Regions from separate parts of the Homo sapiens genome. Here region 1 is linked to region 2. The links are contacts of gene promoters, found by promoter capture Hi-C in human tissues and cell types (Jung and others, 2019). All regions are on one chromosome and are shown on one strand. Each heading gives the region's core, a stretch centred on a gene start or on the middle of the fragment in contact. The rest is flanking DNA. Distances are from core to core; before and after follow the strand shown.

Region 1 (6,669 bases), core at 3,279-5,778, 110 kb after region 2:
GAGATCAGGAGTTTGAGACCAGCCTGGTCAACCTGGAGAAACCCCATCTCTACTAAAAATACAAAAATCAGCCTGGTGCGGTGGCACACCTGTTAGTCCTAGCTACTCAAGAGGCTGAAGCATAAGAATTGTGTGAACCCAGCCAGCTGCGGTGGCTCATGCATGTAATCCCAGCACTTTGGGAGACCGAGGTGGGTGGATCACAAGGTCAGGAGATCGAGACCATCCTGGCTAACATGGTGAAACCTCCTCTCTACTAAAAATACAAAAAATTAGCTGGGCGTGGTGGCGGGCACCTGTAGTCCCAGCTAGTTGGGAGGCTGAGGCAGGAGAATGGCGTGAAAGCAGGGTGTGGAGCTTGCAGTGAGCGGAGATCGCGCCACTGCACTCTAGCCTGGGTGACAGAGCGAGACTCCATCTCAAAAAAAAAAAAAAAAAAAGAATTGTGTGAACCCAGGAGGCAGAGGTTGCAGTGAGCCGAGATTGGGCCCCTCCACTCCAGCCTGAGAGGCACAGCAAGACTCTGTCCCAATCAATCAACTAATCAATAACTGTCCAGGTGTGGTGGCACAGCCCTGTAGTCGGAGCTAATCAAGGGGTTGAGGTGGGAGGATCGCTTGAGCCCAGGATATGGAGGCTGCAGTGAGCTATGATCTCACCACTGCACTCCAGCTTGGGGGACAGGGGAAGTCTGTCTCAAAAAAATAAAAGAAATTGAATACATTGATAGTTTGCCAGGACCCTGCCTTCTACAGGCATCTAGTCTAATGGGACTGGTAGTAATCAAGGCAGATGACCTAATCCCAGTGTCACATTATAATAGGATATAACTGGAGATCTACGGGCGTGCAGAAGTTGGAAGATGAGGGAAGGCATGACAGAGGCTGTGGGGTGAACTGACTTCAAGGAATGGGTCCTTCCCTTCAGAACCACATGTGTGTGGGACATCCAGACAGAAAACACAAACGCAAAGTCAAGTGGAGGACATTTGGAAGGAGCAGTGAAGCCAAGCCAGGAAACACCAAGAAGGCGAGCCAGTGTGGTTGTAGAGATTGTAGAGAGGGTGGAATTGGCACTGTTACCCTGGCCTCGATTTAGAAAGATGTCAGCTAAGGAGGTTGTTCAGGTGGGCAGTGAGGGCATCGTGCCGTGGAAAGATGTTCAGGCTGCACTAGGGAGCCCCCTGGCTTGGGGAGAGACTCCAGGAGACCCCAGCAGGGAGCATTTGACAGTGGATTCGAGTGATGCGAGGGGGACCTGAACTGTGGCCTCTGTCGTGGGAACCCGGAGGAGGTCGATGGCATTTGTGGTTGATGTGGGAAGGAGAGAGAGAGAAGAACCAGAAACGTCTGCTTGCTGGGGGAAGTGTCGTGTCCGCTCCTCCGCTCCTTTTCTTCTCCCCTTAGGAGCAGTTTATGTTTCCTTTTGTTTTATTCTTTTATTTGTACACTGGCATTGGAGTTTGTTTTTTTTTGCTTTTTTTTTTTGGAGAAAAAGTCTCACTCTGTCACCCAGGCTGGAGTGCAGTGGCTCAACCTTAGCTTACTGCAACCTCCACCTCCTGGGTTCAAGGGGTTCTCTTGCTTCAGCCTCCCAAGTAGCTGGGATTACAGGTGCACACCACCATGCCCGGCTAATTTTTCTATTTTTAATAGAGATGGGTTTGGCCATGTTGGCCAGGCTGGTCTCGAACTCCTGACCTCAGATGATCCGCCTGCCTGGCCCTCCCAAAGTGCTGGGATTACAGGCGTAAGCCACCGCTCCCAGCCTGAGTTTCTTTTTAGAAACAACAGTCTAAGAACAAGATAGTAAAATCCTGTCTTTTTTGTACACAGAGTAAAGTGGACAAATAGGTGAAAGAATAAATGAAAGGCTGGAATCCCACCTTCCTCTGCTGTCCCAGAGCATTGGATATTGACCGATAGGAGGCAGCAAACCACTCACAGAGCCAGGAAGAAATAGATGCGTTGGTATTGCCAGGAGAAGGGTCTGGCCCGGCTAAAATACGCTGACCATAGCCAGGAGATACTGATGGAGAGAAAGGAACACAGAGAGGTCACATCTTGGAAGAGGAAGATTGTGGAGAGGGGGAATGAGGGTCTGGGGAGGGGCTGCCCATCAGAGAAGGGACTTCAGTGTTGGGGTGACTGTACTCATTTGGAAATAGCAGGGTGGAGGGGTATTCGATGGTCGGATGCAAATCCGAGGGAGGAAGGGATGTCGGTGATGCTCCCAGGATGGTGGGCTCCGATGGGATCTTTGGTGGGGGCGTGTCTAGGTCAGCTGGTGTCAGGAGGGTCTTTTGTGTGCCAGGCAGAGAATTGTCTCAAAGAGCTGAGAGTAGAGGGGCCAGGAGCTTCAGGGCTGCGGTCAGACTGTGGACCAGGGCTCAGATCCTAAAGGACCCATAGGAGAGGCAGGGGCTATTCATTCACTCGGCAAGAGACCAGCAGAGTCCTGAGGGAGATGCTGACAAATCATAAAAAGACCAAGAATAGCCGGGAGTGGCGGCTCAGGCCTGTGATCCCAGTACTTTGAGAGGTGGAGACAGGAGGATCACATGAGCCCAACAGTTTGAGAACAACCTGGGCAATGTAGCGAGACCCTGTTTCTACAAAGATTTCAAAAATTAGTTGAGCATGGTGGCATGTGCCTAGTCCCAGCTCCTCAGGAGGCTGAGGAAAGAGAATTGCTTGAGCCCAGGAATTAGAGGCTGCAGTGAGCTATGATCATGCCACTGCACTCCATCTTGGGGAGCAGAGCTAGACTCTGTCTCAGAAAAAAGTGTGGGTGCCAAGACTCAAGATTGTGGGAGCTGGTGGGGCACAGTGGCTGACGTCTGTAATCTCAGCACTTTGGGAGGCCAAGGCGGGTGGATCACCTGAGGTCAGGTGTTCAGGACCAACTTGCCCAACATGGCAAAACCCCGTCTCTACTAAAAACACAAAAATTAGCCAGGCGTGGTGGTTCACATCTGTAATCTCAGCTGCTTGGAGGCTGAGACAGGAGAATCGCTTGAACCTGGGAGGCTTCGGCTGCAGTGAGTCAAGATTGAGACACTGCCCTCCAGCCTGGGCAACAGAGGAAGACTCTGTCTCACAAAAAAAAAAAAAAAAAAAAAAAAAAAAAAAAGACCGTAGGAGCACCTGGTGGGAGGTGGTGGAGGGAGAACTGTGGGTTTGGAAGCTGCGCCCTCCCTCCGGTGGTGCGTTGAAGCAGGAACACAGTTACATGGAGAACAACCTTACGTTGTCTGACACCCTCAGATCTTTGTCCCAGGCCAGGAATCTTTTAATCACAGGATCCTCTGTTATTAGAGGGCAGATGTCAGCATGAGAAGCTTTCTGTGGGAGCAGCAGGGCAGCGAGAAGTGTGCCTCCCGGGGGGGAGGTCTCAGGATTGCTGCCATGGGCGAGGTGGATGGGAGGGGGGAGAATGACTTTCACTGGGCAAAGGAGAGAGGCTCCTGCTCTGAGACTCCCCTGAGAAGAGGCCGAAGGAGGCCCTGGGTGTGAGAATCTACGGGATGTAGAGCTGGGAATAAGCCAGGATGCCCTCCCAGCAGACACGGAGGGACCACTGCAGAGTCATAAAGGAATTCCCATCATTTCCTCATGAGACAGTCACATCAGGGTGTGACCATGGCCTTGGTATCCCCCACTATGGATGGAGACACTTAGGTTTAGAAAAGTCAGTAAGAGACATTAAGTTTCAGAGAGCACAGCTGAAACCACTTTCTTTGTTTATTGATTTTGTTTTTCTTTATTTGATTTTTATTTTTATTTATTAATTTATTTTGAGACAGAGTCGTGCTTTGTGGTCCAGGCTGGAATGCACTGGCGTGATCTTGGCTCACTGCAACCTCTGCATCCCGGGTTTAAGCGATTCTCCTCTCAGTCCCCTGAGTAGCTGGGATTACAGGCATGAGCTACTGTGCCCAGCCTTGGTTTTTCTTTTGAGACAGGGTTTTGCTCTGTCACCCAGGCTGGAGTGCAGTGGTGCAGTCATAGTTTACTGCAGCCTCAAAGTCCTGAATTCAAGCAATCCCCTTGCCTCAGCCTCCCAATATGCTGGTATCTCAGGCGTAAGCTCACCTGGCCCAAAACAAAGCTTTCTTATCCCAAGCACTGACCTTTGTCAAGTCTAGCCTAATCCTCTATTGTCTCCTAAGCGTCCCTCATGAGTGATCACTTCTGAGTCCTCCCACATGGAGAGCTCACCCAATGGGGGCATATTTTTCCCATTGGAAAATAGTGGTTATTGGAAGTTTCCTCTTTTTTAGAAGAACAGGATTGGAGGTGCTCTCTGGAGTGTCCTCCTACCAATCTGATTATTGAAGGCCTCGTGGTGCTCAGGGAGCACGAGGTGACACTCGCTGTTGCTTCAGCTTCATCTTGAGCCCACACAGCATCTCCACCACCCAGGTCTCCTCAGGCTCGGGGGTGAGCTTCTTCTCTGGCTCCTCCTCACATTTGTCCAACCACTCCCTCTTCCTTTTCCAGCAAAAATACCTACATGGGGGGCTGGGATCTACCCCAGGGGCTGAGTAAAGAAGCCAGGCCATGGTGTAATGCTTCTGCAACTGACCACCTTAGACCCCGACCCCAAACCCCAAACCACTCTCCATCCTCCCCAGCTTCGCAGACTGCTGGCTTCTCCAAGCCATCTTTCTGGATTTCTCCTCTGCTGAGCCCCATGTGCCGCTCCTTCCCCTCCCCGTTCTTCCATCTCTCTGTCCTCACAACACTTCCTCATGTCCTTCCCTGGTCCCTGGCTCTCTGAGTCCCTCCCTTTTTTTTTTTTTTTGTTTTGAGACAGAATCATGCCTTGTCTCCTGGGCTGGATTGTAGTGGTGCAATCTCAGCTCACTGCAACATCCATCTCCCAGATTCCACTTATTCTCCTGCCTCAGCCTCTCAGGTAGCTGGGATTACAGGTGCCTGCGATAATGCCCAACTCAATTTTGTACTTTTAGTAGAGATGGGGTTTCACCATGTTGGCCAGGCTGGTCTCAAACTCCTGGCCTCAAGTGATCTGCCTGCCTTGGCCTCCCAAAGTGCTGGGATTACAGGTGTGACCACTGCACCTGGCCTGAATCTGAATTTCTCCATTCTTCCCACACACCCGCCTCAGGTTCTTCTTCCTGACCTCTGACCTTTTTTTTTTTTTTTTTTTTTTGAGACAGCGTCTCACTCTCTCACCCAGACTGGAGTGCAGTAGCGCAATCTTGGCTCACTGCAACCTCTTCCTCCCAGCCTCAAGCGATTCTCCTGTCTCAGCCTCCCGAGTAGCTGGGATTACATGTGCGCACCACTAACGCCCAGATAGTTTTTGTACTTTTAGTAGAGATGGGGTTGGCCATGTTGGCCAGGCTGGTCTTGAACTCCTGACCTCAGGTGACCCGCCCACCTCGGCCTCCCAAAGTGTTGGGGTTACAGGCATGAGCCACTGCGCCCGGCCCCCTTCCTTCATCTTAGTCAATCCTATCCTACCTCTTCTTCCTCCAGTCCCCTCACCTGATGGTCCCGACACTTCATCATCCACCACCTCCTGGAGGGGTACCCTGAGGCGCTGGGCTGGGGGCTCTGCTCCTCATCCTGGGGGTGCGGTTGATGGCTGGTTATGATCTTTCCCAAAATCTGTCCCATCCCACGGAACCTAGTCTCTGTTCTGTCCAAGGCCTTCTTCTGGACTCTGCTAAGACCCAGAAGAGTGTGTTGTCAATTTTCGAGGCTGGGAGAAGTCAGGAGTGGAGACCAGCTCTGAGAAGGTTGTCCAGCTGAGCTCCCAGGAGCCCACAGAGTCCAGTCCTTCCAATCAGGAAGGTTGGAATCTCTGATGTCATTGGTCATTCCAACCTGGCAACCAGTTTGAAGAAAAACACATGTAACTGCCAGGCTGATCTTTGTCCTGGAGATCGTGGGTGAATGGTATCTCCTGCCACTGTCCCAACCTCAGGCACTGTCCAAAAGCATCTTTAGGGTCTCCACATCCCTCTGTTCCCTGTCCCAGCAGAGGCTGTGTCCTCTCCACTCAAAGCCTGAAGCATGGTGGGGTCTCCTCTTCTCTGTACATGCCCATTTCAGAGTCCAGTCTGGTGGGAGAGGGAACAGGGTGGGAAAGAAAACTAGGCTAAGCAGAAACTATGAAACCTTACAAGAGTGAGATGATCATGTACAAGAGATCCCAGGAACATTGACTTGATGAAAATGTCACATCAGAGCACTCAGTTTGGCAGAGCTTTTCTGCCGAATGTTTACTGACATTCACTGTCCGAGATTCTATACTGGGGGTACAAGCGTCCTCTGCCCTAAGGCATCTTTGAGTCCAGAGACATCTTGAGGCCTGAAAGTCATAGGAAACTGTCCAGGAGCTCACACATATTTCCAATGGTGTCCCCAATTTCAGGGAGTCCATGGATTACCTAAAGCCAGCCCCTCCAGTTTGGCTAACAAACTCTAGTCTATATATCAAGTTTTGTATCATATGTATTGCTCTGAACTCAGAAATTTCCCTACCATTTATGGATTCTAGGAATAAAATATCGCATGTACAAAAAGGCTAAGTCAAAAAATCTCAGCTGTGCACAGTGGCTCATGCTTGTAATCCCAGAACTTTGGGTGGCCAAGGGAGGAAGACTGCCTGAGGCCAGCAGTTCAAGATCAGTGT
Region 2 (7,223 bases), core at 890-3,389:
GTGAGCCACCGTGCCCGGCCAGCAGACAGTCTTGCTCTGTCGCCAAGGCTGGAGTGCAGTGGCATGATCATGCCTCACTGCAGCCTCCAAAGCCAGGGCTCTCACGATTCTCCTGCCTTGGCCTCCCAAAGTGCTGGGATTACAAGCATAAGCCACTGCGCCTGGCCCGGGTAGCATGTTTTTAAGATGGGAGAGCCCTGAGGATGTGTAAATCCTGTCAGAAAGAAGCCAGTGGAGGGAGAGGATAAAGACCTGAGGAGGGAGGGGCTCCTCAGGGCATGAGGGTTTGCAGGAGGCTAGAAGAGGCAGGTGCACACCTGCTCTGATCTTAAACTCCTGCCCATATCCTCCTCACCTTATCTGCTCGTCCTTATCCTGCCTAGCAGGCTGTCATCTCCACTTCACAGACGCAAGGCAGTCATTTGCCTGCAGTTACCTGGCTGCAAAAGGTCCCATGACCCTAGATGACTCTGTCTCCAAAGCCAGGCTCTTGCTGCACTTTTTCTAGCCTGGGGCAGAAGCCACCAGAGTGCAGGCTTTTCAGGCAAGGGCCAGAAAGGAAGCCTGAAACTCCAGTGCCTGTGGGGGCCAGAGAGATTCCAAAAACAGGACAAGGTGGCCACCTGTGCCACAGCAGTGTGAGCCCAGGGACAGGAGGAAGGGAGGGGGCTGTGAACCCTGAGGGCTCTTGTCCCCCACCAGGGGGGCATTCCTGCTGCACCCCAGGAGCACCTCCCAGATTCAAGCGATTCTCCTGCCTCAGCCTCCAGAGTAGCTGGCGTTACAGGCATGTGCCACCATGCCCGGCCAATTTTGTATCTTTAGTAGAGATGGAGTTTCTCCATGTTGGCCAGGCTGGTCTCCAACTCCAGACCTCAGGTGATCTGCCCGCCTCGGCCTCCCAAAGTGCTGGGATTATAGGCGTGAGCCACCGCGCCCAGCATGTTTGCTTGTTTTTAGATGGAGACAGGGTCTCACTCTATCACCCAGGCTGGGGTGCAGTGGCGCGATCATAGTTCACTGCAGCCTCGACCTCCTCCCGGGCTCAAGTGGTCCACCCACCTTGGCCTCCAAAGTAGTTGGGATTACAGGCTACTTTTCAGTAGCCCAGCTAATTTTTTAAAAACCTCTTTTGTAGAGATGGGGTCTTGCTATGTTGGCTAGGCTGGTCTCAAACTACCAGCCTCAAGTGATCCTCCCGAAATGCTGGGTTTACAGGCGTGAAGTACCATGCCCTGCCCCCAGATCTTTGGTTTTTTCTAAAGAATTTGAGCATCCCAATTTGAATTTGAATTCTCCAGGTTAGAGAGGTTTGTGCACCGAGAACAGGAAAGTTAGGTGGTGCAACATTAAGACGGGGTTAGGGAAGGCCTCCCTTGGAGAAGACCCCTGACCCAGGCAGGAATCCACTTGCCAAGTAGGGAAAGAGGAGAGGAGAGGGTGAGGGAGGTGGGAGGCCTGACCACCAGCCTTGTGGTCAGCGAAAGGCCGCAGGGGCGCTGGGCGGGAGGATTCCAGCTCTGCCAGTTCTCCACGGTGGCCTCATTTGATCTATGCAGGTCACAGTCCCTGATCGGGGGAGGGAGGCACACACTCCCTACTGGCCTGCCCTCCCCAGCCCCGGGGTCTAGGAGGAGGGCTCCACGGTGCGGACCGGGGTGGCCTCTCCAGGGCCCGCTCGGGCCGGGCCCGGATGGCGCCTACTCCCTCTCCGAGTGCCATCGAATTGTGTGCTAATTAGCCACAATTTGCACCGCGGCAGGGGCGCCCCGAGGCCACGCCTGCCCTCTAGGGGGTGGCAGGGATCGGGTTGGGTACCCCCCACCCAGACACCCAGGCAGTGACAGTCGCCAACCCCGTGGCGCGAGGACACGCGCAGCAGGGATGCGGCACAGCGCGCGCTGCGCTCGGCACCGGCCAGCCCGGGACGCCCCAGGGGCCGCCGCATCGTGTCCCCCGGGCCGGGTGAGTGGCCGGGCCGGGAATGGTTAAGCCCACCGAGCTGCGGCTGCCTAGAGCGGCGGCGGCGACGGCGGCGGCGGCGGCGGGGGCCGGGGCGCGGGGGCGCGGCGGGCGGGCAGGGGCGGGGGACAGGATGCGGATGCCGGGGGGACTTCCTGTGCCGGCCCCCGCGCCCCCGCCCCCGGCCCGGCCAGCGGCCCGCACGGACGCACTCCCGGGCGGGCGGGCGAGCCCAGGGGGACCCGGCCTTGCCGCGGCGCCCGCCCCGCCCCCGCCCCGGCCCCCGCGCGGCCCGGCCCAGGCCGCCCGCAGGCTCCGGGCACCTGTAGCCCCCGAGGACCCGCGTCGCCTGGCCGCCGCCGACCCCAGGCGGGGCCACCCCGTGGTGCCGACCCCGGGCGCCGGCCTGGATCCCGCTGCCCGCGATGGTCCCGGGGGGCCGGCCCTGAGCCCCGCGCGGGATTCGGGGCCCTGCCTCCCGCCCCAGCCCCCGCCGGAGAGTCTCCACCAACTTCTGCTCGGCCGCTCCTCTCAGCCCCTTCCCTTGGCCCAGGGCGACCTCGGCAGCCCAGAGGGCGTGGACCCTCCGGAGTGCCCAGAAAGCCCCCGGGGTGGCCCTGCGCCTCCTGGCTCTTTCTGGATGGAGGCGCCTCCGGAAGGAGCCGGCTGCACGCCGTGGCCTTCACCTCGCAGCCTCTGCTGACCACACCTCCCTAGCGCAGAGGCTGCCCGGGAGCAGGAAATGCTCCACCAGGTGAGGCCCAGGGGGTCGTTGGCGCTGGGCAACCGGGGACGCGTCCCTTGAGAGAGTTTGGACTGGATGGCACGAGTCGGCCTGTTTAGGGGAGAGGGGCCAGCTCTGCACGGGCCAGGGTGGACTCTCAGGAGCGCCTGGGCACAGGGCCAGGCCGTGGGTGACAGTGCTCTGGACACCTGCCTTGCCCGGGAGCTGGGGTGGCAGCTGACACACGTGGCCTGCTGGCGGCCTTCTCAGAGCAGGCCAGGAAGGCAATAGAATGGAAGGGCGCCAGGCGCAGTGGCTCACTCCTATAATCCCAACACTTTAGGAGGCCGAGGCAGGAGGATCGCCTGAGGCCAGGAGTTCGAGACCAGCCTTGGGCAACATCATCTACAATATAAAAAAACATAAAAATTAGCTGGGGGTGATGGCACGCACCTGTAGCCCCAGCTACTCAGGAGGCGGAGGCAGGAGAATCGCTTGAACTGGGGAGACGGAGGTTGCAGTGAGTCCAGATCGCACCACTGCACTCCAGCCTGGGTGACAGAGTGAGAATCCGTATCAAGAAAAAAAAAAAAAAGTATTTAATAAAAAAAGAATTGAAGGAGGCAGGGAGGATGTTGATGGACAGTCTCTCTTTGGCCCCAGAGCTCCCCGCCCTGAATGTCCCTTTGGTGACTCTAGCTTTCCTCCCTTGTGAAGGGCTGATACCCACAGTTGTGTCTCTGTGGGGCTACCCCACTCTCCATCCCGCTGTGAAAAGTCAGGAGAGGCAGTCCTGCCTCTATGCAGGTGACAGCCTCTGGTGCTGTCTGCCAACTCCCCAGTCCTGAGCCTCCAGGCCGCCGGCACTCCCCGTTCCCCGTTGCGGGGGACAGTCCTATAGTTGCAGCAGGTATGGAGCTGACCGCTCTGGGTGGCCCGAGGCAGAGGTGGAGGGCCTTTGGGGGCCTGTGGGCACCTGGCGGGGGTCAAAGCACTCCAGCCTGGCTAAACTGCTTCCTTCCTTTCAGCACAGCCGACTCCCGGGAATCGGGGTCTGACCGCCAGGATGGAAGTGGGGCCAGCCACCGAGACCTTCGTGCTGGAACTTCAATGTCTTGAGGATGGGGGCCCAGGGCCTGACACCCTCTCAGGTGAGGGCCTCGGGGGATCCCTTGACAGAGCCTCATGCCTGCCTGCTGTGGCAGAAAGAGGCTCAAGGGTGGCGGGCAGCCTGCACAGACTCACACCAGCCAACCTCAGCTGCATTGAGTAACACCAGCAGCTCTCCCTTGAGATTTTCCAAGGTGGCTGTGTCAGGCAGGCTGAGGCCAGGCTGGTGAGGGGCTCCCCGCTCCCCACATGGGTGCTGACTGGACTTAACACTCACACGCGCTGCTGGCTGGAACTCATTGCTGTGTTTCCTGGCAGCCAGAGGGCCTCCACCATCCTCCCACCTGGCCCCAGCTCCTGAGTCAATTTCCACTCAATTTCCCGGATCCGATTCAGGTACTAATAGGCTCTCTTCCTCTGCCCCTCCTGCCCCAGATGTTGGCTCCCTGGCTTCTTCTCCCCTGTGGCCTCGTAACCTTTTCCACTTTAGCTTGACCTCTGCTTGCATCTGTTTTTCTCTACCTGATGCCCAGGGGCAGATGTGGTACTGCAGAACCTTCCAAGACCTCTTCCTCTGGGACCCACTCTGGGCAAACCTTCTCTGGTGGCCACACTCATGAGAGCCAGTTTCCATTCTGTGCTTTAAGGGTGCTGAGTGAGGGCCTGGGGCAGGGCGGGACAGAGCTTGAAAAGGACCAAGGGAATTGGAGGGGGTGGGATGGGGATGTGTGGAGTCAAGAAGGACCGTTCTGACCGAGCATGATGGCTCATTCCTGTAATCCCAGCACTTTGGGAGGCCGAGGCGGGCAGATCAGTTGAGGCCAGGAGTTTGAGACCAGCCTGGCCAACATGGTGAAACACTGTCTTTACTACAAATACAAAAATGAGCTGGGTGTGGTGGGCACCTGTAATCTCAGCTACTCGGGAGGCTGAGGCAGAAGAATCACTTGAACCCAGGAGGCAGAGGTTGCAGTGAGCCAGGATCATGCCACTGCACTCCAGCCTTGGTGACAGAGTGAGAGTCCGTCTCAAAAAAAAGAAGAAGAGGAAAAGAAGACCCTTCTGACTTGTAAATTTACCTGACAAAACTTTGGGAGGGTATACACGTCAGACAACACTGGACTAGATGTTCACTAAAATGCCTTTGTTAAAAATGCTGAGGTCAGGCACAATGGCTCACACCTGTAATCCCAGCACTTTGGGAAACCGAGGCAGGTGGATCGCTTGAGCTCAGGAGTTCGAGACCAGCCTGTGAAACATGGCAAAACCCCATCTCTACAAAAAGTTTAAAAAATTAGCTAGGCGTGGTGTTGTGTACCTATAGTCCCAGCCACTTGAGAGGCTGAGATGGGAGGATCGCTTGAGCTTGAGAGGTTGAGGCTACAGTGAGCTGAGATTGCGCCACTACACTCCAGCCTGGGTGACAAGAGTGAGATCCTGTTTAAAACAAACAAACAAACAAAAACTGAAATTGCTGCCCCAGGGAGTCAGAGTGGCCTGTGGTCAAGACTGTGCCAGAAAAGAGGAGACTCAACACAGAGGCATGATCTGTCTCATTCCTCCCAGAAGAGGTGGGAGAAAGGAGGGTCCATGAGACATTGGACTTGCTGGGGGGACAGTTTTCACCCTGTCTTCTACCATGTGCTTCCCCCCAGCCAATGTCAGTGTCTATGAAAAGCACGCTCACGGATCTGTTAGCCTAACCAAAGGTTATTAGGAATATTTTACTAGAGGAAATTATATGCATACAGATCTCCCTTGGTGGATTTTTTTTTTTTTTTTTTTTTTTTTGAGACAGAGTCTCACTCTGTTGCCCAGGCTGGATTGCGGTGGCTCAATCTTGACTCACTGCAACCTCCACCTCCTGGGTTCAAGCAGTTCTCCTGCTGCAGCCTCCCGAGTAGCTGGGACTATAGGTGCCTGCCACCATGCCCGGCTAATTTTTGTATTTTTAGTAGAGACAGGGTTTCACTATGTCCCTTGGGTTGTTGTTTTTGTTTGTTTGTTTGTTTGTTTGTTTTTTTGATAAGGAGTCTTGCTCTGTCGCTGGGCTGGAGTGCACTGGCGTGATCTCAGCTCACTGCAACCTCTGCCTTTCAGGTTCAAGTGATTCCCCAGCCTCAGCCTCCCGAGTAGATGGGACTACAGGCGCACACCACCACGCCCGACTAATTTTTTGTATTTTAGTAGAGATAGGATTTCGTCATGTTGGCCAGGATGGTCTCAATCTCCTGACCTCGTGATCCATCTGCCTCGGCCTCCCAAAGTGCTGGGATTATAGGCGTGAGCCACCGCGCCCGGCCATCCCTTGGTTTTATTAAATCAATATATTCTTGGAAAAATGGCCAGAAAGCAAACTTTTATAAATCAAAGCATTGTCTTCCATTACAAAATGGAAAACATATGATGTTATAGGGAGAAGAGATGTTGAAATCAGAGTTGGGAACGGAGAAAGCCTCCTCAAGTCACATGTAGAAAGAAGGATTGGGATTTTCCAGTAGCACAATAGTAATACTCAAAACGAGAATCTCATGGTGTACACGGTGCGGAAAGAGAAGCGTAGTAACGGAGTGGTGCTGTTTTTGCAGGGCCTCCCAGGTTTATGCCTCCCAAAGTGTTGCGATTACAAGCATGAGCCACCACGCCCAGCCTAGTTAGTCCTTTGTATTCCTGAATGACAATCTCAAACAGTCCCAGTCTCCTTGGTATTTTTTTGTTACTTTGCAAACCAATCCTAACCTTCAGAGAGAGGGAATTTTCAAGCACCTACCAGGCTCCAGGTACTATGCCAGGGCTCTCCTTGTTGTACTGTTTAAGCAGATGGTGTGGGTATCACTGAGCTATTTTGTAGACAGGACTGTGAGCCTGCAGGAGGTTGTATACCTGCCGACTGGTAGAGTTAGGTTCTGAACTGAGAACTTCCTGTCTGAAACCTAGTGGTCTCTCTGACACTTTGGTGATTTTGGGAAACTACTTGTGGTAACACCTCCGGGCAGCTTTATATAAATTCTTTATTATTTACAGAGAAGGATAATTTCATTTATTTAAGGTGTGGCTGTAAGGTCGGAGTTCAGCATGGGGTTGATGGCTTGGCCGTTGGGACAGCCAGTTCAGTGGTTTCTACTGGAGGGTGATTAAGCGCAAGAGACTTCTCAGGATGGTCAGGGAGCCCCCAGCATCCCTGCTAGTGCCAGTGCCGAGATCAGAGCATGGGGCCTGTGTAAAGGGAAGCTCCAAGGAGGGATCAGGGAGCTGGGGTCCAGAGGGAGGTCACCAGCAGTCCCTTGGCCACCTACCTTCCTTCCTTCCCTTCCTTCCCTTTCTTCCCTTCTTCCTTTCTTTCTCTCTCTCTCTTTCTCTCTCTCTCTCTTTTGAGATGGACTCTCCCTCTGTCACCCAGGCTGGAGCACAGTGGTGTGATCTCGGC

What was found. Contacts are between HindIII fragments. The study calls those that stand out against the background at their distance.
Region 1: a contact is called between a fragment that was not itself captured here and the fragment with the promoter of ZNF853 in region 2, in 2 of the 25 tissues and cell types used here (lymphoblastoid cells and spleen).

The regions. Positions count from the first base shown.
Region 1 is chr7:6,716,401-6,723,069 of GRCh38, forward strand. It overlaps the pseudogene SPDYE20P. Among named protein-coding and RNA genes, the nearest start is that of ZNF12, 13 kb to the left of the region's middle. The HindIII fragment of the contact is 6,899 bases long and covers 1,080-6,669 here.
Region 2 is chr7:6,613,471-6,620,693 of GRCh38, forward strand. It overlaps ZNF853 (zinc finger protein 853), which reads left to right and starts at 2,140. Exons shown (of 3, transcript NM_017560.3): 1 at 2,140-2,716; 2 at 3,720-3,837. The coding sequence starts at 2,705. RefSeq lists enhancers at 270-1,023, 1,024-1,777. The HindIII fragment of the contact is 23,550 bases long and covers 1-7,223 here.